Regions from separate parts of the Homo sapiens genome. Here regions 1, 2 and 4 are each linked to region 3. The links are contacts of gene promoters, found by promoter capture Hi-C in blood cells and fetal thymus (Javierre and others, 2016). All regions are on one chromosome and are shown on one strand. Each heading gives the region's core, a stretch centred on a gene start or on the middle of the fragment in contact. The rest is flanking DNA. Distances are from core to core; before and after follow the strand shown.

Region 1 (6,227 bases), core at 1,979-4,478, 720 kb after region 3:
GCAACCCCTGCCTTTATTTGTTTTCCATTTGCTTGGTAGATCTTCCTCCATCCTTTTGTTTTGAGCCTATGTGTGTCTCTGCACGTGAGATGGGTTTCCTGAATAAAGCACACTGATGGGTCTTGACTCTTTATCCAATTTGCCAGTCTGTGTCTTTTAATTGGAGCATTTAGTCCATTTACATTTAAAGTTAATATTGTTTTGTGTGAATTTGATCCTGTCATTATGATGTTAGCTGGTTATTTTGCTCGTTAGTTGATGCAGTTTCTTCCTAGTCTCGATGGTCTTTACATTTTGGCATGATTTTGCAGCGGCTGGTTCCGGTTGTGCCTTTCCATGTTTAGTACTTCCTTCAGGAGCTCTTTTAGGGCAGGCCTGGTGGTGACAAAATCTCTCAGCATTTGCTTGTCTGTAAAGTATTTTATTTCTCCTTCACTTATGAAGCTTAGTTTGGCTGGATATGAAATTCTGGGTTGAAAATTCTTTTCTTTAAGAATGTTGAATATTGGCCCCCACTCTCTTCTGGCTTGTAGAGTTTCTGCCGAGAGATCCGCTGTTAGTCTGATGGGCTTCCCTTTGTGGGTAACCCGACCTTTCTCTCTGGCTGCCCTTAACATTTTTTCCTTCATTTCAACTTTGGTGAATCTGACAATTATGTGTATTGCAGTTGCTCTTCTCGAGGAGTATCTTTGTGGCGTTCTCTGTATTTCCTGAATCTGAATGTTGGCCTGCCTTGCTAGATTGGGGAAGTTCTCCTGGATAGTATCCTGCAGAGTGTTTTCCAACTTGGTTCCATTCTCCCTGTCACTTTCAGGTACACCAATCAGACATAGATTTGGTCTTTTCACATAGTCCCATATTTCTTGGAGGCTTTGTTCGTTTCTTTTTATTCTTTTTTCTCTAAACTTCCCTTCTCGCTTCATTCATTTCATCTTCCATCACTGATACCCTTTCTTCCAGTTGATTCCATCGGCTCCTGAGGCTTCTGCATTCTTCATGTAGTTCTCAAGCCTTGGCTTTCAGCTCCATCAGCTCCTTTAAGCACTTCTCTGTATTGGTTATTCTAGTTATACATTCGTCTAAATTTTTTTCAAAGTTTTCAACTTCTTTGCCTTTGGTTTGAATGTCCTCCTGTAGCTTGGAGTAGTTTGATCATCTGAAGCCTTCTTCTCTCAGCTCGTCAAAGTCATTCTCTGTCCAGCTTTGTTCCATTGCTGGTGAGGAACTTCATTCCTTTGGAGGAGGAGAGGCACTCTGCTTTTTAGAGTTTCCAGTTTTTCTGCTCTGTTTTTTCCCCATCTTTGTGGTTTTATCTACTTTTGGTCTTTGATGATGGTGATGTACAGATGGGTTTTTGGTGTGGATGTCCTTTCTGTTTGTTAGTTTTCCTTCTAACAGACAGGACCCTCAGCTGCAGGTCTGTTGGAGTTTGCTAGAGGTCCACTCCAGACCATGTTTGCCTGGGTATCAGCAGCAGTGGCTGCAGAACCACGGATTTTCATGATCCGCGAATGCTGCTGTCTGATCGTTCCTCTGGAAGATTTGTCTCAGAGGAGTACCCGGCCGTGTGAGGTGTCAGTCTGCCCCTACTGGGGGGTGCCTCCCAGTTAGGCTGCTCGGGGGTCAGGGGTCAGGGACCCACTTGAGGAGGCAGTCTGCCCGTTCTGAGATCTCCAGCTGTGTGCTGGGAGAACCACTGCTCTCCTCAAAGCTGTTAGACAGAGACATTTAAGTCTGCAGAGGTTACTGCTCTCTTTTTGTTTGTCTGTGCCCTGCCCCCAGAAACTCCACGCAGTTCGAGCTTCCCAGCTCCTTTGTTTACCTAAGTGAGCCTGGGCAATGGCGGGCGCCCCTCCCCCAGCCTCGCTGCTGCCTTGCAGTTTGATCTGAGACTGCTGTGCTAGCAATCAGCGAGACTCCGTGGGTGTAGGACCCTCCAAACCATGTGCGGGATATAATCTCCTGGTGTGCTGTTTCCTAAGCCCGTTGGAAAAGCGCAGTATGCGGGTGGGAGTGGCCCGATTTTCCAGGTGCCGTCTGTCACCCCTTTCCTTGACCAGGAAAGGGAACTCCCTGACCCCTTGCACTTCCCAAGTGAGGCAATGCCTCACCCTGCTTCGGTTGGCCCACGGTGTGCTGCACCCACTGTTCTGCACCCACCGTCTGGCACTCCCTAGTGAGGTGAACCCGGTACCTCAGATGGAAATGCAGAAATCACCCATCTTCTGCATCGGTCACGCTGGGAGCTGTAGACCGGAGCTGTTCCTATTCGGCCATCTTGGCTCCTCCCCCAAACTTAGCATCTTAAGACAATGCCCTTTTATTATCTCACAGTCTTGGGAAGCAAAAAGTTTAGGAATATATTAGTTGAGTTTTCTGCACAGGGTTTCACCAGGCTGAAATTAAGGTATTAGCCGGGGCTATAATCTCATGTGGGGCTCAAGGACTAGTAGATCTAGTTGTTACATAAGCTGTACCTAGTATGGAATCTAACAAAATGAGACTATTATCTTTGGAAAGTGGGGGTTAACAATGGGGCTGGGAAAGAAGCTATGCCTTGGAGATCAACAGCTCTGGGTTTAAATTCTAACTGTGGTGTGTATGAGTTTTAATTTTATCACCTACATAAAAGAGAATATTTTACTTATTTTACAGGATTAAGAGATTAAATGAAATATCTGAAAGAGATTGACATCTAGCTATGTCTCCTAAGCATCTATATTTATTACTAAGCATGAAAACTCAAACATATTTCTGAGATGGGAATTATGAAAAAATATTCAAAGTTTTGAAAAGATGTTGAGGTGATAGGAAAACAAAGTCATGTCCAGCTTCACTTGATAATGAGGGTGCAGTAGTGTGGTTAATAAAATTGAAAAGATCAGGAAAAAGTCACAGAAACTGCTTTAGTTATTTCATTTATTTATTCATCCAATATTTGTATCTGTGTGAGAGCCTACTCTGAGATGGGCATCTTTCTAACTGTTGAGAATACAGTGGTGAACTAACCAGACAAGGACCTCACCCTTTGTATAGTACGGCATTTCCTAAAATGTATTGACTGAGATGTTATGATTCCTACAAATTAATAAATGAATAAAGGATTTCAAAGTCAAATAAATTATTGAAGCTTTATGTTATGTGAAGTTTTATGTTTGCTGTAGTAGTTCTCAGAGCCTTGAATATGCAAATGAAAATTGTGAATCTATAAGAATTAGATATAATATGTAGCATTTCCAAATTATTTTACTTTAGAGCTTCTATATAGAGGAACACATACTAATATCTTGCAGGAGACAGCTTGAGAAGTGCTCAATGAAGCTTTAAGTCAGATTGAATAAATGGATTTATAAAGCAATATTAAAGGCTTGTCAGTATTTGGATTTCATTCATTGGTAATGGATCCAATCATGAAAATTATATGATGTTATTTGGCACAATTCCACAGCTTAACAAAAGGCCTAGAGAAAATGGGCAGCTGATTTGTCTAGGTGTAGAAATTGACAAAGTGATTAAAATAAACTATGGAGGTGTAACAAAATCCTAGAGGCTTGTGAAATAAAGATAAATCAGTGAACCATGTATTCCAGCCTGGATAAGGAGGAAAGCAAAGCCTCAATAATTTGAGAGAATAATGAGATATGGAAATATTAGAAGTATAATGCTATTGCTTAGAAGTAAGAAAATGTGGAAGAAAATTATAGTCAGAGAGACACATTTCAAGTTTCAAGATATCAGATGTGAAAAATGGATGAAAAGTGATGACATTGTTTAGGACATAACTGTGGATTCATTGCTAAAGTGGAATGAAGAGAAGGTAAAAGCCTTATGAGTCCATAGTATACAAATGGTTGTCCATTTGAAGAATGAAGTTACTTAAGCATCTAGAAGATTATGAAGTAGAAAAGAGAACTGTGGTTCTGGCATAAATAATTTATGCATACTGGGTAGGCACCTGGAAATTGGTGGAATTATGACTTTTAAAAGTTAAGTCCGAGTATGGTGGCTCACACCTGTAATCCTAGCATTTTGGGACGCCGAGGTGGGCAGATCACTTGACGTCAGGAGTTCAAGACCAGCCTGGCTAACATGGTGAAACCCCATGTCTACTAAAAACACAAAAATTAGCGAGGTTTGGTAGTGGGTGCCTATAATCCCAGCTACTGGGGAGGCTGAGGAAGGAGAATCACTTGAACCCAGGATCTGAGCCGAGATATCACCACTGCACTTTAGCCTGGGCAAAAGAGCGAGACTCTGTCTGAAAAACAAACAAACAAACAAAGTTAATATGTGGTCTTCGAAGTAGGCATGGTGGAACCAATGTAAAAATCTAATGGCTTTGAATGAGACAGTAGGAAGCAAGGATATTGCCAACCTTTCCTTAAAGTCAACAGATTTAATGCAAGTAGGAGTGCCTTTACATGGAGGTTCCATGGGTAGTACAATATAAGGGAGAGTGGGTCTCGAGTTCAGACAAACACAGGTTAGATTCCTGACTCTGCTGCTTACTATGTTACAGCCTTATTTAAATATGTAATGTCTGTATGAATTCTACATTCTTTCATAGACACAATATTCCCATCTCATATCTTGAAGGCTCTTCTGAGGAATGACAAAATTGTGTAAATCTTAGCACAGTGTCTGTTTTTCACACAGGACTAGGCTTTTTACTGTGAAAATGAGAGCCATATTCTAGAAAAATATTTAAACTTGTGTGAAGGTTATGAGCCAATGATAATAGAGGCAAAATTCTGAGATATGGGTTTGATTGTCATGGAAAAGATGGGAAAAGACTCTGGATGGAGTTAATTCTTTTCAAATTTCTACTGAATATTTGTGGGAACTTTGGTCTAAAGTGTAATGATGCATTTTAAAAATACTTGACCAAGGTAGAGATTGCCAAACTTGATGATAATAATAAAAATGAACAAAATAATGGCTAATATATATTAAGATCCAGCTAACTCTATGAAATAGATTTTACCACCCTACTACACTATTTATGCATATGAGAAAAACAAGAAGTGAAATGACCTGCACAAAAGCATAGAATTTGTAAATTGCAAAGCCAGTATACCCTCTCATATCAGATAGACATGCAAACATGTATAGATTTACATAGATATACACATATTTACATGTGTTTAAATATGTATAATGTGTTTATGTATGTATATATGTGTATGTGTTTATGTGTGTATACACACACACACACACATATGTATACACAGAGAGAGAGAGAGAGAACATTAGAATAGACCCACCGAAAGAACTCTCTAAGTACTATTTAAAAATGTATGTACCAAACATAAAAACTTACTGCAATTGACATTTTGGCATACAGGATTAGGTAAACACAACAGCTCAAAAATATTCTATAAAGCCAGTTATTGTAATCAATAACACAAATGTTCAAAAACCAAAGATCTACAAATTTAAAATAAATATGTTAAACAATGTAATGTGAATCTGGATTCTGTAAGACACAGGAATCTGATTTTCAGGTTACAAAACCTTCCAGTATATAACCATAGGATTCAATGGTCAGGGCAAACACATCATGAGAAAGGATGGTTTTACTTTAGAAAAATAGAGTAAGGAATCAAACATGAAGCCTTGTCATGACTAAAACAAACCAAAGTGGACGTGGGGCAAACTAAACCTCTTTTGTTCAAAGCTGTATGTCCAGTGCCTAGTCAGTTCCTGGCACCTTGTAAGTTTGTTGAATGAAGTGAATGAATGCCTGAGAAGAAAGAGCAGCAGCACAAGAACTGGTTGCTGATGACAATAAGGAAAACATTACATAGAACTTGGGTGCTGAGGCACTTGTATCTACTTTAGACTGTCTATGCTTCATTTCTTTATTTGTTGAGGAAATCGATCCAGAAGAGCTTGACCATAAATCAACAGCACTATTCTCTCTTTATTGACAGATATTCACCAAGTGAAGGGGAAAAATAACTTTAGTTTAGAGCTGGAAAGTCAACTGCTACCTAAAATCCATTTTGAGGGAAGGGACATTACTCTTAAGTCTTGGTGTAACAAAGAATAAATGTAGCATAAAGCTACTCCTTGACTCACCAAAATCTGAGATATATCAATCAGTGACTTGTCTAGAAATTTTGAACTGACAAGACCACTGAATTATTATTATGGGTTTCTGAAATTCCAACAAACTTAGGTCATGACCTTAAACACTCTGGAAGGAAGCATCTTTCAAGACTGAA
Region 2 (6,390 bases), core at 2,605-5,104, 770 kb after region 3:
ACAGTCTTTAAAGAATGATAATAAGACCTCACAACAGACTTCTTGTCAGCAAAGTAGATGTGTGAAGAAAATAGAATATTTTTAAACTACTGAATCAAAATACTGATCAATGTTGAATTCTATGGGAACTATGATTCAAAAGTGAATGTAAACTAAAGGTCATTTCTAACATACTATGAGAGTTTTTATACTTGCATATACTTACTGAAAGAACTAAAGAATGTATATTTCAGCAAGAAGGAATTAAGCTAGAAGAAAGGGGCTGAATGTAAGAAGCAATGATAAGTAAAGAAACTGAGAAAGATATTAACAGATCTGAACAATGTAAACATAGTATTATGGATGATAAAAGAAAAACTTCAGCTGAATTAAATTTAAAGGAGTTTACTTGAGCAATGAACAGGCAGCCACCAGAATCACAGCAGATTCACAGAGACCCCAACGGTGCCTCACGGTCAGAACAAATTTATAGACAAAAAAGGTAAAGTGACATACAGGAATTGGAAGTGAGGTACAGAAACAGTGAGATTGGTTACAGCTCGGTATTTGCCTTATTTGAACGCAGTTTGAACATTCAGCAGTCTATAAGTGGTTGAAGTATAGCCGCTGAGACTGGCCAACACTCAGCTATTGTTACAGGTGCTACTTACTACAAAGTTAGGTTTTCGGTTTTGTTTGACTATTAAGCTAGGTTACAGTTCATCCACAAGGACTCAAATATAGAAGTACAGAGTCCTTCTCTGGCCATGTTTAGTTTGCTTTAACAGGGATTTAAAAACAAAGTAAAGTACAACTAAAGACAATAGTAATATTTTTAAGACAGAGAAGGGTGGTCATATTTGTGGAATTTAAGATCCTTTTTTATAAAGGATGAATGCAGAACTATAGACAAAATTAAGATATATTGACAGTGGTTATGATTTGAATTACTCCCCTTCAAAATTCAGGTGTTGTCAATGTGATAGTATTAAGAGGTGAGGCCTTTAAGAGGTGATTAGGCCATGAGAGCTCCTCCTCCATTAATGGGATTAAGGCCATTTTAAAAGAGGCTTTAGGCAGCAGTCTTTGGCTAGCTTGTCCTTCTTCCTTCTGCCATATTGAGAAAACTGTAGCAAAAGGCCCTTACCAGACAAAACCTGCTGGCACCTTAATCTCGGACTTCCCAGCCTCCAGAACTGTGAGAAATAAATTTCTGTTCTTTATAAATTACTCATTCTCAGAAATTTTATTATAGCAACACAAAATGGACTAAGACAATATTTAAGTGAAGTCTGTATGTTAGAAATGTAAGGATTATCACAAAATAGTAGAAATAACATGGATAATATCCCAAATGAATTTAAGGCAAAGAGAAGAAAAAATCAAAACTTGGCAAATCCAAAAGAAAGTAGAAAATAAGACCAAAAAAAAGCAAAAAAAAAAGTGTAAATAGGAAACTTAATACGAGACCAAAAAGTAATCAAGAATCACAAAGAATATAAATAGAAGATTATATACAGATTACTTAAAAAGCTCTCACGATTTCTCCAACACTTCAACCTCAACCCACATAATGGATTTATCATTGTAATGGCTGGTTTGAGCAGGAGGCCTGGCTCAACTTTGTGGAGCTGGTATTTCATTTTTCAGAGAGTGAATTTAGAAAGCCTTGGATATGCTTCTGGTTAAAAGGCTTCCATACTTCAGTGGCAAAAAGTGAAATGTATATTTTTTGCTTATAGTTTAGATTTTAATGGGATTATGTCAATTTTTTATAATTTTCTGTAGACTAAATCACACCCTAAAACATATGGGCATAATTTCACAATTTCTTCTCCTTAGTGAAATCTCTTTGCAGAACAGATATAATTGACCTAATATTTCAGAGAGTCTCTAAATATATAAGAATGGAGTCAGCATACAAGATTTTCAAATCCCCTGAGGAGGGGAGAAGTGGCTCTTATATCAGGTGGATGGACATGCAGAGATCATTAGTGGTTTCATGGTACCTTTTTGTTTAGTAACTGTACTTCCTATTTATCTGCAATCTTATCACTGAGAAAGTTTATAAAGCTTCAAAGTACCTGCTCATTTATATTGCCCTATTCTCTATAAGAGGTCCTAAATTCTCTTCTGATTCACATGATATGATAGTGTCTTCTGGGTCAGATGAAATCAATCTTGCTACTCGGTCCCTAGCTATTTTCACCAGGTTTTGGTACATGATCTGAAAGAATGTTTATAATGTCTGAAGGTAAGATAGGTCAGGTGTCCCTGAGACTCCAGTTAAATGGTAACAACTTGGCCAATCACATTGTTTCTTCTCATTAGGGTAAAGTTAATAGATAAAGTAGGATGAGGAGAAGAAAGAGCAGTTGTCTTTCCAAACAATGCTTAGCCATTGTTCTGGTACTCATTATGGCTGTTGTACATCTCAGTCTTGCATGGTCTGAGTGCAATGTAACATTCCTGTACATGCTACCCTATGGGGAGAATTCCTAACATAAACCTACTAAAGGTAATTTGTGTGTAATTTTTCCTTGCGACCCTAAGGATCCTGAAAATTCCAATCAGGAAAACATATCTAGGGAAGGGATATGAGTCAGGGAAATTCCAGCCTTGAATATTGTAAACCAAGACTGGAGCATATTTTAGAATGCCAGATTGATATGGTTTGGCTCTGTGTTCCCACCCAAATCTCACCTTGAATTGCAATACTCCCCACCTGTCAAGGGCAGACCCAGATGGAGATAATTGAATCATGGGGGCAGTTTCCCCCATGTTGTTCTCATGATAGTGAGTTCTCATGAGATCTAATGGTTTTATAAGGTGCTTTCCCCTTCACTCGGCTCTCATTCTCTCTTCAGCTGCCCTGTGAACAGGTGCCTTCTGCCATGATCATAAGTTTCCAAGTCCTCTCCAGCCACGTGAAACTGTGAGTCAATTAAACCTCTTTTCTTTTACCCAGTCTTGGGGAGTTCTTTAAAGCAATGTGAGAACAGACTACTACACAGGTGTTGGAGCAGGTGTCTCTAGGTCTCTAAGATCAGAACAAGGCTTGCAGCAAGATGGTCTTAACTTGGAACAAAAAACCTAATTTCTTTCCTCTGCCTGCAACCAGAGGGAGATACCTCATAATGGGATTGTTTCAGGGACAAGTAGCCTTTGGGAGTAAAGAGCCAGTGCAGAATATGCCCAAAATATTCCTTTAGAGGTGGCTTTCTCTAAGTTTTAGAGAAGCATTATTTTGCCTCTTTTCATAGCACTGACGCAGAGTTACTAAATGTATTTTTTCTCAAGTTGTTAGAAATGAGTCATAAAATAAATGACTTGTGTTTGACTTTCAAGTGTTTCTAGCACCAAGCATTAGCAGTAAATGAAATCCTTCTAATATTTTCTATGGGTGGAAATGTGTCAGATTCCCATGGCTTTTAGGTTAAACTAGAGTCAATTTAAATTTAGTATGTTTCATCACATATAAAGCAAGTTTACTCAGCAACTATCAAGCATGTGTCAAGGTGTTATCTGAAAGTCAGAAAATTCACTTTGTGCTTCATAAATAAGTACAGGTGAATTACTTCCCTCCTCTATCTCTTTAAAACAAATGTATTTTGTTGAATGCCTTGGGCATTCAGCCCAGAATGACAGAACACAGAATGTTTTAATTGAAAAAAAAAAAAAAAACCTAAGAGATCAGCTAGTGTAATCCATTAATTTTACAAAGGAGGAAAGCAAGGCACAGAGGTAGGTTTCTCTCTTGGGGATCACACAAAAAGCTAGTAGCCTAAATACTGGTCTCATGACACCCATTCCCATGGTCTTTGAACCATAAAATTATTCTGCTGTCAGTAGCATTAAATGTTTCCTCTCCACCGATGCTGAGGATGTAAATTCCCCACAAAAACGGAATTGATGTGATCTTTTTCCTGCTTCAGGAATGTTTTCCAGGTTTGTTCTCCCACTTACCCCTTCATGTCTCATTCCTTTCTATGGATATCTGAAAATTTGTCCAGTTGCCTGGCTATAGGGTACAGTCTATTTCCCAGTCCCTGCGGAAGGAGGACCTATTGGATGGGCTGCCCTGGCTTTGCATTAGGTCTCTCCCTACAGGCTTCTTCTCCCTTGGGCTCTCCCATTTCAGCCTTATTTATTTCAGCTCTGAAACAGGTGATGTTGCACCACTGTACCAGATCCTGCTCACTCTCAGGACCTTGAATTTTGAGACTGTTCCTAGATTCAGCTCAGCCTAATATCCTGGGATAATCAGGGAAGTCTTACTTATGTCCATATCAGTACTTGATGAGCCATCTGAAGCCTGTGTTCTTTCTTCAGTAGAATAGTACTACTTAAATAATCTTTAAAATATTTAGAATACGAAGAATTTTGAAAAGAAACAAAGCCATCCATACTCTTCTATTTTGAGACAGAGTGTTGGTCACCCAGGCTGGACTGCAGTGGTGTAATCACGGCTCACTGCAGCCTCAACCTCCGGGGCACAAGTGATTCTCCCATCATGGCCTCCAGAGTAGTTAGAACTATAGGTGCATGCCACCACACCCAAATGATTTTTTTGTATTGTTTTAGAGACAGGGTCTTGCCATTTTGCCCAGGCTGGTCTTGAAATCCAGGACTTAAGCGATCGACCCACCTTTGCCAGAGTGCAAAGGTAATCCCTTTGCACTTACTGTATTTCAAGACCTTGGCTAGGTTTGCAAGATAAAGCAGGAAAAAGTAAAGAAAAGGCCCTAAATTGTGAAATTTACAGTCTGAAGAACCAGACTGTAAATGGGCGATTATAATACAGGATAATGGAAGAGAAGGGAAGAGAGTGTGCTGTAAAACCAGGGCATCAAACTTGGGTACTCAAGGAAGCCTATCTCAATGAAATAATATCTTAGCTGAGGCCTGAAGGACGTAAAAGATTTAATCAGATAAAACAGTGAAGTGGGGAAGTGCTTCAGGTAGAGGGTACAGCTTTGGCAAGGCTCTAAGGTGTAAGAGAATAGTCTGTGTGAAGAAATAAAAGAAGTTCAGTATGTCTGAAGTATAGAATGGAGGGCAGTTAATGGAAACAGTTTGAGTGAGTATTCTGGTGTGAGATCTTGCAGAGCCTTATAAACCACAGAGGAGAGTTGGGGCTTAGTTCCAGGAGTGATGGTGTGCTTTTATAGGGTGTTAAGCACTGGGGTGACATGATCCAATTTGCCTCAAAAGAATCAGTTTGGCTACAATGTGATGGGTGGATGGGATGGAGACAAATCCAGAAGCAGAAATGCCATTTTATGGATGTTTGAATAATTGAGGCAAGAGATAATTTTGATCTAGAAAAGAGTCAAGCCTGCAATGATAGAGAGAAAAAGACATATTCAATAAATTTTTAGAAGGTAAAATAAATTTAATTCTACAATTCCTTCTGGAGGCTTCTTGTTTCTCTTTCTTTTATCAATAATTCTCTCCTCCATGCCACGCTGCCTTTCACATGGCTGGAAACTTCAGCTCTCAGCTTCATGTCATCTTCTCAGAGAGGACTTTCCTGACCACCCTATTTAAAATGTCTCCGTCCTCACTCTCTCAGAGTACTGATTTTATTCCTTCATAAAAGAATCAAAACGTGACTATTTTATTTATTTGCAATGATATAATTAGTGTCTGCTTTCCTTGCTAGACAATAAGCTTCATGAATTCAGGTACCATGTTTATTTTTTTCCATATGGAATACCCAGGGTCTGACTAGTTTCTGGCATACAGCAGGTGCTGAATAAATTTGCTGAACATGAATGTGGGCGGCAGATTGAAGATTCAAGGACGCCCAGATGTCTGGTTTGAATACCATTAACTGAGAGAGAGAACTCTACAAAAGGAACAGGTTTGGAGGGATATAAGATATGCTCAGTTTTGGACATGTTGATTTTGAGGTGCTGTGAGATTTCATAGCAGAAATGTCTATCAGGAAACTGAAAACAGATCTGGGGTTTAGGAAGGAGATCTAAACTGGAGATACATCGCCAGAAATAGCTATATTTCAGAGCTTTGCTCAATATTTATATGTTTTTTGCAGTAGAGAATCATACATAACTTGATTTTTCCAACTTAAATGTATATCTTGAAGCTTTCCATGTTCTTTAATATTCTTTTACATTATTTTCATGATTGAATAATGTTCCATTGGGCAATTGTCTCATAGTTATTTAACTAATTGTCTTTCATTGGATATTTAGATTGCTAACAGCTTTTGTCATTGAGTGTAATCTGTAATGGACAGTCTTCAGCTAAGACATGGTTCTCACTAGTGAGTAATTCTTGAAAAGTGTTTTCTAGAAGTGGAATGGCTAAATAAATGAACATACAAAATTTTATGGTTTCATACTGTAGCAGGATAATATTTTCGATGTATAGATTTATCCTTCTACT
Region 3 (6,780 bases), core at 1,279-3,778:
GGTGCAGCAGTCTCGACGAAAAAGAGAATACAAAACCTCCACCTCCGAGAACTGAAAGTGCTACAGTTTGAGCAGTATCCATTTGTATGTAAGGGAAGAGTGGCAGGGACCAAAGGGACAGGTTAGGGAGGGGAGGGAGTATCTACAAAAGAGAGGAGTGGCAAGAAATGAGATCGGAGAGGTAAACAAGGCGGCCAGATCAGGAAAGCCTTGTGTGCCACATTAAGGAGTTTCAGTATTACCTGGAGGACAATCAGGAAATCATTAATGAGTTTTCACGGAGAAGCATGACTTGATTTAGCTTTTCATAAAGGCTTGTGGAAAAATGGAGACACTGATCGGAGAGAAAGGAATAAGAGGCAAGGCTGAAAGCAAGAGACCTTGAGTTAGACCACTATTGCAATAATCTAGGGTGACTGTGGTTTACACTCTACACGAAGATAATGGAGACAAATAGTGGACAGAAGTAATCAGATTCAAGACCGTTATTACTTGGGTGGCATAGAGATCACTTGGTGGTTTATGCTATGTGTGGGTCAGGTGAATGAGAGAAAAAAGTCCACGATGACACTGAGGTTCTGACTTGGCTAACTCAGTGGAGGGTGTTTCTGCTATTAGGTCCCCAGTGTCAATTCTCAATTCTAAGTAGGGAACTCAGAAGCATCCATTAACTTTAAAAGTTTGTTCTTATCTCACAGTATATGATCCCAGGCTCATAATTTTAGGAATAATAAGTTGTATGAATCATCCTGGACCATCACTTTCCTGAGGTCCATATTTGAAACAGCTGTGGGTGTAGAAAGTATGAATTAATCACCTCTTCTTCCCAAATAAAGAATCTTAAAATTACCAACCTCACTGCTTGAGAGAGCTAAGTAGATTGAAAAGGCATGAAGATTTATGGAGGAAGCTCTCTTTTGGAGTTATAGGAAGAAGGGAAATTGATTCCACTAATCCTCTGGCTTCAGGCTCTCTCTAGACTCACAACATATATTCTTAGGCTTGAGAGTTGAGGACTCAGAAATGCTGTTTGGAGGATGGATGAAAGGGGACAATGACCCTCAGTTTTCGAGGAGCACAGTCCTCCTATGTAGGACACTGGTGCATAAGGATCAGAGTGTCGCACTGCTTGGAATATTCTCCAATTCTGAATAAAGGGTATATAAGTCATTATACATGGTGAATTCCACCACCAGATAAGATTTAAGGGTAGCAATTGTAATAAATCAAGGCCCTTGGCCCAGCTGATGTACCCTATTCTAAGTCCCCAGTTGGACAGATTTTCGAGCTTTCTTAAACAAATTTGTGTGCATCACAAATGCTTTTTCTGCCTGTCATGTAAAAGGCATCAACAAATATTGACTGGATCATCTGGACCTGACTTAGCTGCCCTTTGGAAAGTTCTGTTCAATCAGCTGGATAGAGCTGTTTGTTTTCCTCACCTAACCCTCACAGCTATCCTAGAGGTAGGTATCACTATTATTATCCCTCAATTTAACAAGGGTAAATTTGAAGTTCAGAAGGGTCAAGAACCGTAGGCGTAGGCCACGCATGCAATGGCATCCGCATGTAATTCGAGCACTTTGAGAGGCCTGGACGGGATGATCCCTTGATCCCAGGAGTTAGAGGTTGCAGTGAGCCCTGATCGCGCCACTGTACTACAGCCTGGGCCACAGAACGAGATGCCGTTTCAACAGCAACGGAAAAAAAAAAAAACAAAAAACGAAACAACAACAAAAACTTTAGGCATAAAGGCACTCAGGCTGAAGGGACCGATTGGAGTGCTGGCTTGAACTCGTTTTTCTGAGTTCAATTCCAGTGCTCTTCCCTTAGCAGTGTGCTGGAGCTACTTCCTGGAGCCGGGCAGCTGCAGGGCAGCGCTGGGGAAAAGACTGTTCTCTGGCTACATAGCAGCCTGGCTTCTCCAAGCCGGAGGGAGCTGCGCTGACCACTGAAGGCCTTTCTGATGCAACCCCTTCCAAGTAGAATCCATCGCAGCCTTTCAGATCCCGGAACCCAGAGGCTGTGTCGGTCCTGACGCACTGGCTTGGCTGGGCTCCGGTACGAGAGGGATCTCTGCAGCTCTCGGGCGAGGCAGTTGTGGGGAGCTGTAGGCTGACTTAAGACCTGGAGGCCAAGGAGGGGTGGCCAGGGGAAAACTTTCTCTATTTTGTCTCTCTGTGATGTCGCAGCTTTTCTCAGTCACTCCATCCAACGCCACCCACTTCAAACCTGAGATCAAGTGCAAAAAAAAAAGAGGGTGGGGTCACCCCTGGGCTGGAGATGCCGCTAGCCGCAGCCTGCCTACACCGGGCCGAGCTCCTTGGAGAGGGAGGGACACCGGCTCTGGCTGGGGGGGCGCGGAGTGCCGTGGGGAAATCGGGCGGGTGGGGCGCGCCCAGGCGCGGTCGAGTTGCCCCGAAGGCCGCAGGTGAGGGAGGGCGTGGGAGGCGCCCCAGGAGCTGCCTCTAGCGAGTGCGGCACCACGTGTCCGGCCGGGGCGGGGTCGGGCGTGCCCTCGGAGCCCAGAGCAATCGGCGGCAGTGGCGGCGGCGGCGCGTTGGAGCCTCACCAAGAGCCGCCGCCCGCAGCCCGCGCCGGCTCAGCGCAGTCTCCTCGCTCCGTGCTCGCAGGTGCCTCCTCCTGGACGGCGGCAGCGGCGGCGCGAGGAGCCGGCGGGCAGCGGCGCGATGGGGCCCCTCCGCGAGAGCAAGGTAAGGAGCGCGGGGCAGTGCGGGCACTGGAGGGCGGGGAAGGCGGGCACTGCGGGGCGAGAAGCGGCGGGATGAGAGCTGGAGGGGTGACATTTAGAGTCTGGGGAAAGGTGGAAGGAGGTGGTGGTGGGGTCTGGAGAAGGCAGGAGGCATTGCTTAGGAGTTGAGATCCAGGAGATGGGGAGGTGGTACTGGAGGAATAGATTTTGGAGAATGACATGATTGGAGGGTTAATCCCACCTCCTGAAACTGGGACTGTGGGGTGTAGCTTTCAGTTGATATCCTGTGTGTGTGATGTGAATGAAAGGAATTTGATGCATCCGCGACTGGGAAAAGAGGACTCCCGCGTGTCAGTGACCCTGCCTTAGCTCAGGGTCTGCGGTGTGCCCGGCGGAGTGGCTGGCGCATGGTACCTGCTGGGCGGCAGATGTGCAGGGCGAATCCGAGGCTGCGTGCGGCTGGCGGCCCCCGGGTAGAGTGGATGCCTGAGGGCCCTCCGAAGTTCCCCATTGCTGAGGTTTACCCTTCAATTTATGCCATGTGCCGGCCTCCCAGAGGTGTTTATTTTGGCCGTGACCCTTCCTGGTAAGCCGGTGGAAGGAACAGTAGGTCATGTTTCGAAAGGGTGTTTGTTACCTAAGCCAAAGAGTCCCTTTCAGTGGCAGAGGTTGGAGGAAGCAGTGGAATTTTTGCAAAACGCTCCTCCTAGGAATCCATTTTCATAAGGCAGGGTGGTGGTGACCCTGCAAAGCACTGGATTTGAATTTCGTTCTACTTCTGGCATGGTGTGCAGAATTGCCTAAGCATCTCTACCCCATTTAGCCTGTTTCCTCATCTGAAAATAGGGACATTCATTGGTGTGCTCTCTATGTACAGTCTGGTGTGTAAAGATCAAATGAGAAAATGGTTGGAAAAGCACTTTATAAGTTGGAAAACATTGTGAAAATATTACTGTTACGCATTTTTAAAACCACGAAATGGCAGGGTACTTCATGCTGCGTTTTTAAGGAGAAAGAAAAATCTCTTCTTATGGATGTCCTGTAAGGAAAACAAAAATTAAAGATGATGTAAAAGGTGGAGCCATCTTCCCGAGTATCGGATTTGTGTTTGCTTTTCTGTTGGCAACAAGCCTTGTGTACCAGGATATTAACGAATAATTAAGATCCTGTCCAGAAGAGGAGGGATTTTAAAGATAATTGTGTGTGAGCTATCAGGAAATAACTGTTCCAGGTATAGGGTTCAACTTTGTGAGGAGACAAGAAAACAAGTCAGACTGTCACAGCTAATTTAGGGAAAGCAAAATGGAAGTCTGAAGGCTATCAAGTAAGCCAGAGTGTGGTGTTAATAAAGAGCCTTTGGGAGGCAGAAGCTTGAATGTGATAGAAGTCAGGGTGGGAAGGTGAGTCAGGACCAGCATAGGGAAGTAGGATGGCCTTCCAGCTAGTGAGTGGAGGTGTGTATATGTGTGTGTGTGTGTGTGTGTGTGTGCCACACAGACATGTGCTATTCAGTAGATTAGAAAGGTTAACTCATTGGAAGAGTTTTGAAGCTCATTTCAGCAACTGAGATAAGAAGGACTACTCTGTGAAGACTCAATACTCAGAAATGTGATTTCTTAGAAATTGATCCTTGAAGGAACCGACAGGAGTTAAGAGAGGGAAACGCGTTTCCTTTTGTTTTCTTTTTTGATGTCCAATTTTGAGAAGGAGCACAGAGTGCAGCATCATGACAAGGAGATTTCTCGAAGCCGAATTCCCCGGTTGATTCTTCGGCCCCATATGCCCCAACAACAGCACAAAGTGTCCCCAGCCTCTGAGTCTCCTTTCTCTGAGGAAGAGAGCAGAGAGTTCAACCCCAGCAGCTCTGGGCGCTCAGCGAGGACCGTTAGCAGCAACAGCTTCTGCTCAGGTACAGTACCCTCGGGAGGCCACCAGAGGCGTGAAGCGTGTGCACTGCAGGTGCATTGTGAATGGGCCCATACTGGGTCCCTTATAGCCTAGAACTACACTTCTACTATTAGGATGAATTGTAGAAGGTGGTACATTTCTGGCTGTTGTGACCTACAAACACAGCAGTTTCATATAGTTCAGTTTATTGGAATCTCACACCTGAATTTTCATATGTTATTCTAGCTTATAATTTCGAATGTAAAATCTAACTTCTTGTTTCTATGACTTTTTTCCTTTGTTTTATTATACTTTAATTTCTGGGATACACGTGCAGAACATGCAGGTTTGTTACATAAGTATACACATGCCATGGTGGTTTGCTGCACCCATCAACCCATCATCTACATTAGGTATTTCTCCTAATGCTATCCCTCTCCTAGCCCCCACCCCCTGACAGGCCCTGGTATGTGATGTTCCCCTCCCTGTGTCCATGTGTTCAACTTCCACTTATGAGTGAGAACATGCGGTATTTGGTTTTCTGTTCCTCTGTTTAGTTTGCTGAGAATGATGGTTTCCAGCTTCATCCATGTCCCTGCAAAGGACATGAATTCATCCTTTTCTGTGGCTGCATAGTATTCCTTGGTGTATATGTGCCACATTTTCTTTATCCAGTCTATCATTGATGGGCATTTGGGTTGGTTCCAAGTCTTTGCTATTGTGAACAGTGCTGCAATAAACATACGTGTCCATGTGTCTTTATAGTGGAATGATTTATAATTCTTTGGATACATACCCAGTAATGGGATTGCTAGGTCAAATGGTATTTCTGGTTCTAGATCCTTGAGGAATCGCCACACTGTCTTCCACAATGGTTGAACTAATTTACACTCCCACCAACAGTGTAAAAACGTTCCTATTTCTCCACATCCTCTCCAGCATCTGTCCATTCCTGATCTTTTAATTACTGCCATTCTATGACTGTTTTTAAAGATGCATTCCTTTGTTAAATGTAGAAAAAATATTGGATTGAATTTTATACTAGCAACTTCTAGAAGCCTGTGTACCTCTAATTATAAAATTCCCCAAAGATAAAGCAATTCCTAATAAATGAGGTCAAGATCAAGGAGAGTTATAGCCTAAGGCTGGCCTGGCCTTATGGTTTAGTAGGGAAGAGCCCAGGCTTTGTGATCTGTCAAGCCTGAAGGGCTGGAATCCCTGGCCCTTTCACCACTTACATACTGTGTGACCTTCAGCAAGTTGCTTAACCTCCTTAAGCCTTAGTTGTTACATCCATAAAATGAGATTATAATACTTGCCTTGTAGAGTGGCTGTGAAGTTGAATGAGACCAGTACCTAAATGTTCACCTTACACGGTACCTGGCTTACAGAAGTGCTTAATAAATGATGGTTCTTAATACAAGGAACTATGGATGTCTGTTTGGGCACGTGATTAAGAAAGTTTCCTTAAAGTTGTGAGCATGTTTGGTAAGGGCACAAATCTCTTGATAGTTCCTGAAGGTGCCACCATTATCATTTGACAGAGCTTTTTATTCCCATTGAAGCACATGACTTAGAAGGAGTTACTTGAGAAGTATTAGGAATTTGGGTAAAATTTAAAGGAGTGACTGTCTTATGACTAGTGAAGAATGTTTCACAGTGGATAATGTTTTAGAACTTATTTAGGGAACATGGAACTTGAAGATTAACACATGTATGAGAAGAAACACATGAATCAGGATGCTATGATTAATGCTCTAATTTAGCAGGACCTAACATTCCACTGCATTTAGGGCTCACAGCTACATTTTTCAAGGATTTTATAAATGCAGCTTTGGATTTATTACATACTTCCACAAAGTTATTCTGTCCTCTGCATAAGTTGTATGTTGGAAATTCTGCACTGCCTACTTTTTTTTTTTTTTTTTTTGCTAACTAATTTTTTGCTAACAATTTGCTAATCAAATTGTCTGCTTGATTCTGAAAAAAAAAACCCTATCAAAATATTATGTTTTAAAACTTATTTCTTTATATTTGAATCACATGAATCTAGTTTAAGATGGAAACCCACTGCTGCTTTGCCTACTATTCCCCCAAGAAGAAAACAAAAGGATAACTGAGAAGCTATCACAGTTAGTATTCCTAGAATCTAGAGTCATATTTGCAGAATGTAATGCTGT
Region 4 (5,935 bases), core at 2,771-5,270, 730 kb after region 3:
TAATAAAAGAAATATTATTCGCTTATTACTCAGAATGCCTTGGGCTGTCTTTCTGCATGCAATCCACTTAATAAGTAACCCAATAGCAGACAAGTTCAGGAGAAGGTGCAGGCCTGTCCAGCCAGCAGAGGAAGAGTCAGCTGCCTCCACGACTACACTCCAAATGGACATATTTCATATTCTCCCCATACAGACTGCATGGCTTGGGTCTACCTGGAAACACCTTAGAATAGAGATCTCCCCTCCATTCCTGGGTTCCTTGGAAACATGAAGCTACACTCACCACCAACCATCTGTTCCCATGTTAAATATAAAATGGAGAAGAAATTGTCTATTTTGAAGGGAAGAGAGAGCCATCATCTTTTACAAGTGCCAGAGGTAGTTTTGCTTAGTGCTTCCAAGTCCTTTGTAGGCTGAGCACTGAAGTGAAGAGGATATGGGCAGGAGCTGCCTAAGAAGAGGAGATGAAAGAAAGCAGAAGTCCACTAGTGAGGTCTCTATAATGCCTCGGTATCTCCTGCCACAATCCACAGGCTGCCCTGGGCTCTGGGTCATCTCTAAAGATAAAATTAGTCATTGTATGCTGGCACTGATATTACATGTGTTGCATACATAGTCTCTAAATCATACACTAACCCTAAGAAATAGGTGTCACCATTCCCTTCTAACAGATAAAACGGAGGCTCCATAAAAATAGGTTAGTCACCAAACAATATTTTGGTTTGATCCTAAAGTCTATGATTTTCTCTTTACAAAGAGGGATCTGTGGAGCTCTGGGATGTTTCCTGTCTCCCACTAGACTGTCTGCTCACTCAGGATGGGTACCTAGTTTTTTTGCTTATGGTTCCATTCCAGGCCTTGGAAAACTGCCTAGGTATTCGTAATATATACATATTATGTATATATTATATAATAGACACATATTATGTATATATTATATAAGAGACATATAATATACATATATGTATATTTACCATTTGAAAGATGATAACAAGATAGCAAGCATACCTTAGAAGAAAAAAAAATCTCTAGATAGATTTGAAAATAAATAAATAAATAAATAATAAATAAATAAATAAATGGTCTAGGAATTTGTGCTGGGTTCGGCCTGAAATGATTGTATCATTGAGGCTCCCTGGCCATTTGGTTTCATGTTGGTTTTGGCCAGAGAGAGGCACTGGTAGATCAATAGGCTTGGAAGAGAGAGCGATCAGGGTAATTATTCCACGAGCTTTCCTCCTTGGAGTCATCTTGGCTATATCCCTCCACCTTAGGTCACAGCTCCCATCAGGGAATCCACTACAAAGTTCTAAATTTCAGTAACTGCTTCTTGCTTCTTCAGCCTGGGGGTGGCAATAGCTCCTTAATGTTGCCATTAGTTGTTGTTGTTGTTGTTGTTGTTTTTAATGTTTTAACTCTGCTCACATCTTTAGAGGTAGTTCTTTTATCAAACTTTCTTTCAATTTTTTATATGAGTGTGGCATCTATTTTATGCTGGAAATATGAATTATTCAGTAGATGTTTATTTATCTACTTAAATATTGATCAAACCCCAATTATATGTGCATTGTATGTGTTTGTATGGGAGAATGGCTCTCAGAACAATACAAATGTTGAAAACTGATATATCTTTTCTATTTAGATAAAATTGTTTCCTCTTCTCCAACATTTCACCATCCAAGTGAACTAATATTGGTAGTTTTAAATTTTGTTCTCTCTCTCCCTCTTTATTTCTTTCTTTCTCCTTCTTTCCTTCCTTTTTCCTTTCTTTCCTTTCTTTTCCTTTCTGTCTTTTTTTCTTCCTTTTGCATTCTGCCCAGCTATGGATAGTTATCCTACATGCTATGTAATGCTGGAGGGAAGACAAGTCCCATCTCTGGCAGCCAGATGTGGAGGTTACCAATGAGGAGCCTGGCAAGGAGGTTTCACCATAAGAAAAGGGCCTGCATGGCCGACTTTGTGGGTTGCTGGAGATGGTAGACTCAAGGAGGTCTCTTCAAGGTAAACATTGATTGCTACTGCCAGGCTGACTACATACTGCAGCTTCCCTCAGGTGGGCATCAGCTTTAGGTTTTCACTAACAGGCTGAGTGAGGGTTCTCAGAGGTCCTGTGCCTGGGAGGACGCCTGATAGAATCTTGCACTGGCTCTTATTGTTGGCTTTCATTGTCATTGTGATGAGCCCTGCTGAACAGGGATGTTCAGTGCCCAAGGGACGCTTACCTGCAATCACTCATTCCCTGCCTGCACACCCACATGCAACCTCAGAAACCCACAGTGACTTATACACAAAAGGATTAAAGGCAGGACCCAGGAGGTGGGGTGACCAGGAGTGCAGGGAGTTCCAGCCCACCTGCAAGAGAGGAAGCATCTCTATGCAAGCTTCCGTTTAGAAGCCTAAGTAGCTGCTCCTTACTCAGTCCTCTATATTAGAGTCCTTTTATGTCAAAATTTCTGGTTTGCCTGTCTTAAAGTTTCAGGTTTTTGTGTTCTATTTTCTAGTGCAACTTGTGTAAGAATGTCATCTTCTGTAATGCAAGCCTCCTTGTATTCATATTTCACATTCCTTGAGGACATGGCCATATATTTTTTTCTAAAGTATGGTCTGGTCTTGTTACACAGTCCTCAGAAATATTCTAATATTTTTTAACAAATGCAACCAGAGTCTTTTTAGTTTGGCATTCAAGGTGCTTTATAATATTTTTCCTATATCTCTGTTTTTAGTAGTTTCTTCTCTGTAACCTGTGTTTCAGGGAAAGAAAAAAAATCCTGAACATTTCTTGAAATTTTTCCTCCTTTATTATTTCTCCTGTTCAATTCTCCACCTCAGTAGCAAAGGTACTTCTGCATCAACCATCCCTACACTTTTTCTCTATTCACCAATAAAAATACCGAATGCGTTCTCTCCCTCCTTTGAACATGCAATTAACTTTGTTGTATCCCTCTCATAGTACTAGCCGACTTTTGTCTTGTAGTATGTTTATTGTAAATTTTTAAATTCCCATCCACTAGTTTGTAAGTTTCCTTGAAAGTTATTTTACACAAGAGAAGCCATGGAGATAAAGTCACTAGTATGTGGGTTTGGGAGGGCAAAGTGATCCAAGTTAGCACCTTGAGTTACAATATTTGAGAATTTTGTGAGGAGTAGGAGTCCAGGATTATTAGGCATCAAATAAATGTCTTCCTCTTCCTTCTGCTGGCTTCTCCAGCTCTAGGCAAACTTGGAATTCTCCTAGTGTACCCATTAGTTTCATTAAATCAATCTTTTGGTTTTTGTCTAAATATTTCTTTCTAGGAAAAGAATTTCTAATGCAGCCTTAACTTGCCAAGGCAGATACATACCACTAGCCAACATACTTTATGACTTTTACCATTTATGTTCATTTTTTTCCCTTTTTCACTGAAATATGTAGCAGGCTGAAAGGATATTAAGTTTTGAAGTAGTTTGCCTCAATAATATGACATAAGGGCATTTTTTCTCTATATGCTTATGTATTTTCAGCTTCTTTTTTATTTACTTTTACAATAAGCCTTTATATATGTCTAACCATAAATAGGAAGTTAAAAAAATATCCTGAGACATTTTGGCTGAGCTGCCTTTTATTTTCCTTTCTACAACTTTGCTTGCATGCCAAGTGCATACCTCTTAAGATCAAGGTAGCAAATAAAAAGAAAAAGTGGACTTCAGCCAAAGCACTTAGCAGGCTGTCAGAAAGCACTATAGGTAGTTGCTTCTGATTAAAATCAAACCAAACTTCCTTGAAAACTAAGGTTTCCAAAGTCACTCAAAAGTTATAGCAAAACAATTCATATTGACAGCAGTTGCTAGGGACCTGGAGAAATCTACTCATATAGTAAAGATAACTGGAAGTTTTGGGAGTGAGTTTGTAAATTCTGGGTTTCTGTTGGGATGTTAGATGTGGGGGGTGGGGGGGTTCATAAAGAAGCTCTAGATTTCTACTCACAACTCTTAGTAAGCACAAGAAAAAAACTAGGCTTAATGACAACAAAGAATGCCACTTCCTTAATAAATCTCTGGAGACCAAACTTGTATAGTAACATTTTTGTCCTGGTTATACAACAAAATTTTGAGACTCTAAAATCAACAGTTGAGATTGCAGCACATATATAATGAATTACTGTTGAACTTTCCTCACCTTGTGCAAAGTGCATGAAGAACACTTCATACACACATAATTGTGTGTGGCAGGTGGGGTGGGAGGGGATTACAGAAAATCAAATGGGTAAAACTCATTCAGGAGGAGGGAGCAGAAAGTATGGGAGAAGAGGTGTAGCTAGATTTGGTCATGGAGGAAATTATTGCTCCATTCTATGTCTGGTGGAAGCAAGACCTTCAATAACCCCCACAGCCTAGGGATAAAGTGGGGGTGTACTAGGGCACAGATCTAATGACCGGTCATACAAGCAGATACAACGGTGCTGTCAGGGCTCAGTGGGATAGGTCAGATGGTCAGGGAAATCAGCAGTGAGAAGAAAGACTGTAGGCTTTGGGGTCAGAAACGTGAGTTATGAATTCAGCTCTTCTGCTTACTAGCTGTGTGCCCTTGGGGAAATTGTTGAACTTCCATGAAATGGTTTTCTTCCCTCTGAAATGGAGAAAATAATATCTTTGTTTTTGTGCGAAGTAAATGGGACAGGGCATATATATAACATGACAGATGAAGACACATAATTAGTTTGACTACAGCCAGATGAAGCTCATCTAAGTTTGTTCATCTTTGCTTCTCCAGTATCTGCCATTTAGAATGTGCCCACAACTGCCAAATCAATAATAGAATAAAGCAAGGGGAATCCCTGAGTCTTCATGGAGTAAGAGCCACACCTTCTTAAGGGGATCAAGGGGCAAAGTGACTTGAAGACAATATTATCATGATAAATAAGGAAATAAGGGAAAGTGTGGAAGGTTTTCATCTCAATGGACATGAAAAAGGTCAGAAAGGGGAAGAATGGCACACTCAATTTTTCTAAGCTGGGAAAGGAAATGGTTGGAGTGCTGAACGTATGTGTGTGTGCGTGTGTGCTCATGCACAGTGCATCTTGGCTAATGAAATGTACACAAGAGAAGTGTCAACATATTGAAATGTACTCTTCCTTTTGTTTTACATCTATCCCCGAAGTGTGCATTATTAGAGTTGAGTGCATTTAATAAGCCAGGATTATCTCCTAGAGTTGCAGAGCAAGACAAAGCAAGTAGAGTCGGTATCTGGAGACCTTTTTGCAAAGAAGGTAGGTTTTGGTGTGATTTTTAAACTCTTGGTATTAACTATTTTTTTATTCTTTTGTATTATGATGTTTTAAAATCAACTTTTGAAGGGTTTTTTGCTTGCTATATGAAATATATTATTAAACTGATTTAGTTGTCCTATATTCTTGGAAAGTATTTCTGGTTGCAAAAGGGTGGCATTTTTGTAGGAGCAGATATTGAAACTGCTAATAAATTAGAATCAAATAATAAGGGAGAATTCAATTCATTTTGGAACCAAAAAGGGAATGAAACACTTTTGCAAATTGATTTGTATTAACTAAATGCTCCCTTTAAAAAATAAAATTCTGGAACGATGACATTTGCTCTGCGTACAACGTGTGTGATCTTTTTAAGATATCAGGTTATCTTTGTGAGATTTAATTTGTAAGCTTTCTTAGAAGGAAAAACATTTTAAGTAAAAAAGAAGTATTTTTTAAGCTATTATGCTTAGTGTATAATTTAACTTAAATGGAAAATGCATAAATGCACTTGATATCTTTTAACAATTGTGCAATTACAATATAATTATTCTTCCTATGCGCAAAGATTAAATAAACTGCATTTCAACGTTAAATACCTTAAGAAGTATGACTGTAGTGGGAGGTCATTAGGTTAAATTCTAATAATAAGCAAATCATAAAATTCTGTTCATCAACCAAGTACAGAATTC

The links. Contacts are between HindIII fragments. The CHiCAGO score rates a contact against its expected background, and 5 or more counts as called.
Region 1: a contact is called between a fragment that was not itself captured here and the fragment with the promoter of SYBU in region 3, in 2 of 17 cell types (total B cells and naive B cells). The highest score is 11.0, in total B cells.
Region 2: a fragment that was not itself captured here is called in contact with the fragment with the promoter of SYBU in region 3 in 1 of 17 cell types (endothelial precursors); the score reaches 5.3 in endothelial precursors.
Region 4: a contact is called between a fragment that was not itself captured here and the fragment with the promoter of SYBU in region 3, in 2 of 17 cell types (total B cells and endothelial precursors). The highest score is 5.6, in total B cells.

What each region holds. Positions count from the first base shown.
Region 1 is chr8:108,926,544-108,932,770 of GRCh38, reverse strand. The region is part of intron 1 of LOC101927413 (a long non-coding RNA gene); the gene reads left to right. Among named protein-coding and RNA genes, the nearest start is that of TMEM74, 140 kb to the right of the region's middle. The HindIII fragment of the contact is 191 bases long and covers 3,133-3,323 here.
Region 2 is chr8:108,871,068-108,877,457 of GRCh38, reverse strand. LOC101927413 (a long non-coding RNA gene) reads left to right here. Exons shown (of 6, transcript NR_188035.1): 5 at 2,847-2,914; 6 at 5,728-6,390. Among named protein-coding and RNA genes, the nearest start is that of TMEM74, 87 kb to the right of the region's middle. The HindIII fragment of the contact is 3,600 bases long and covers 2,055-5,654 here.
Region 3 is chr8:109,640,570-109,647,349 of GRCh38, reverse strand. It overlaps SYBU (syntabulin), which reads left to right and starts at 2,528. Exons shown (of 7, transcript NM_001099754.2): 1 at 2,528-2,714; 2 at 4,418-4,622. The coding sequence starts at 2,691. It overlaps SYBU-AS1 (SYBU antisense RNA 1), which reads right to left and starts at 3,221. Exons shown (of 2, transcript NR_161375.1): 1 at 3,128-3,221; 2 at 1-2,232. RefSeq lists enhancers at 1,844-2,163, 1,825-2,761 and a silencer at 2,274-2,763. The HindIII fragment of the contact is 4,274 bases long and covers 1-4,085 here.
Region 4 is chr8:108,909,937-108,915,871 of GRCh38, reverse strand. All of the region lies in intron 3 of LOC101927413 (a long non-coding RNA gene), which reads left to right. Among named protein-coding and RNA genes, the nearest start is that of TMEM74, 130 kb to the right of the region's middle. The HindIII fragment of the contact is 3,273 bases long and covers 2,384-5,656 here.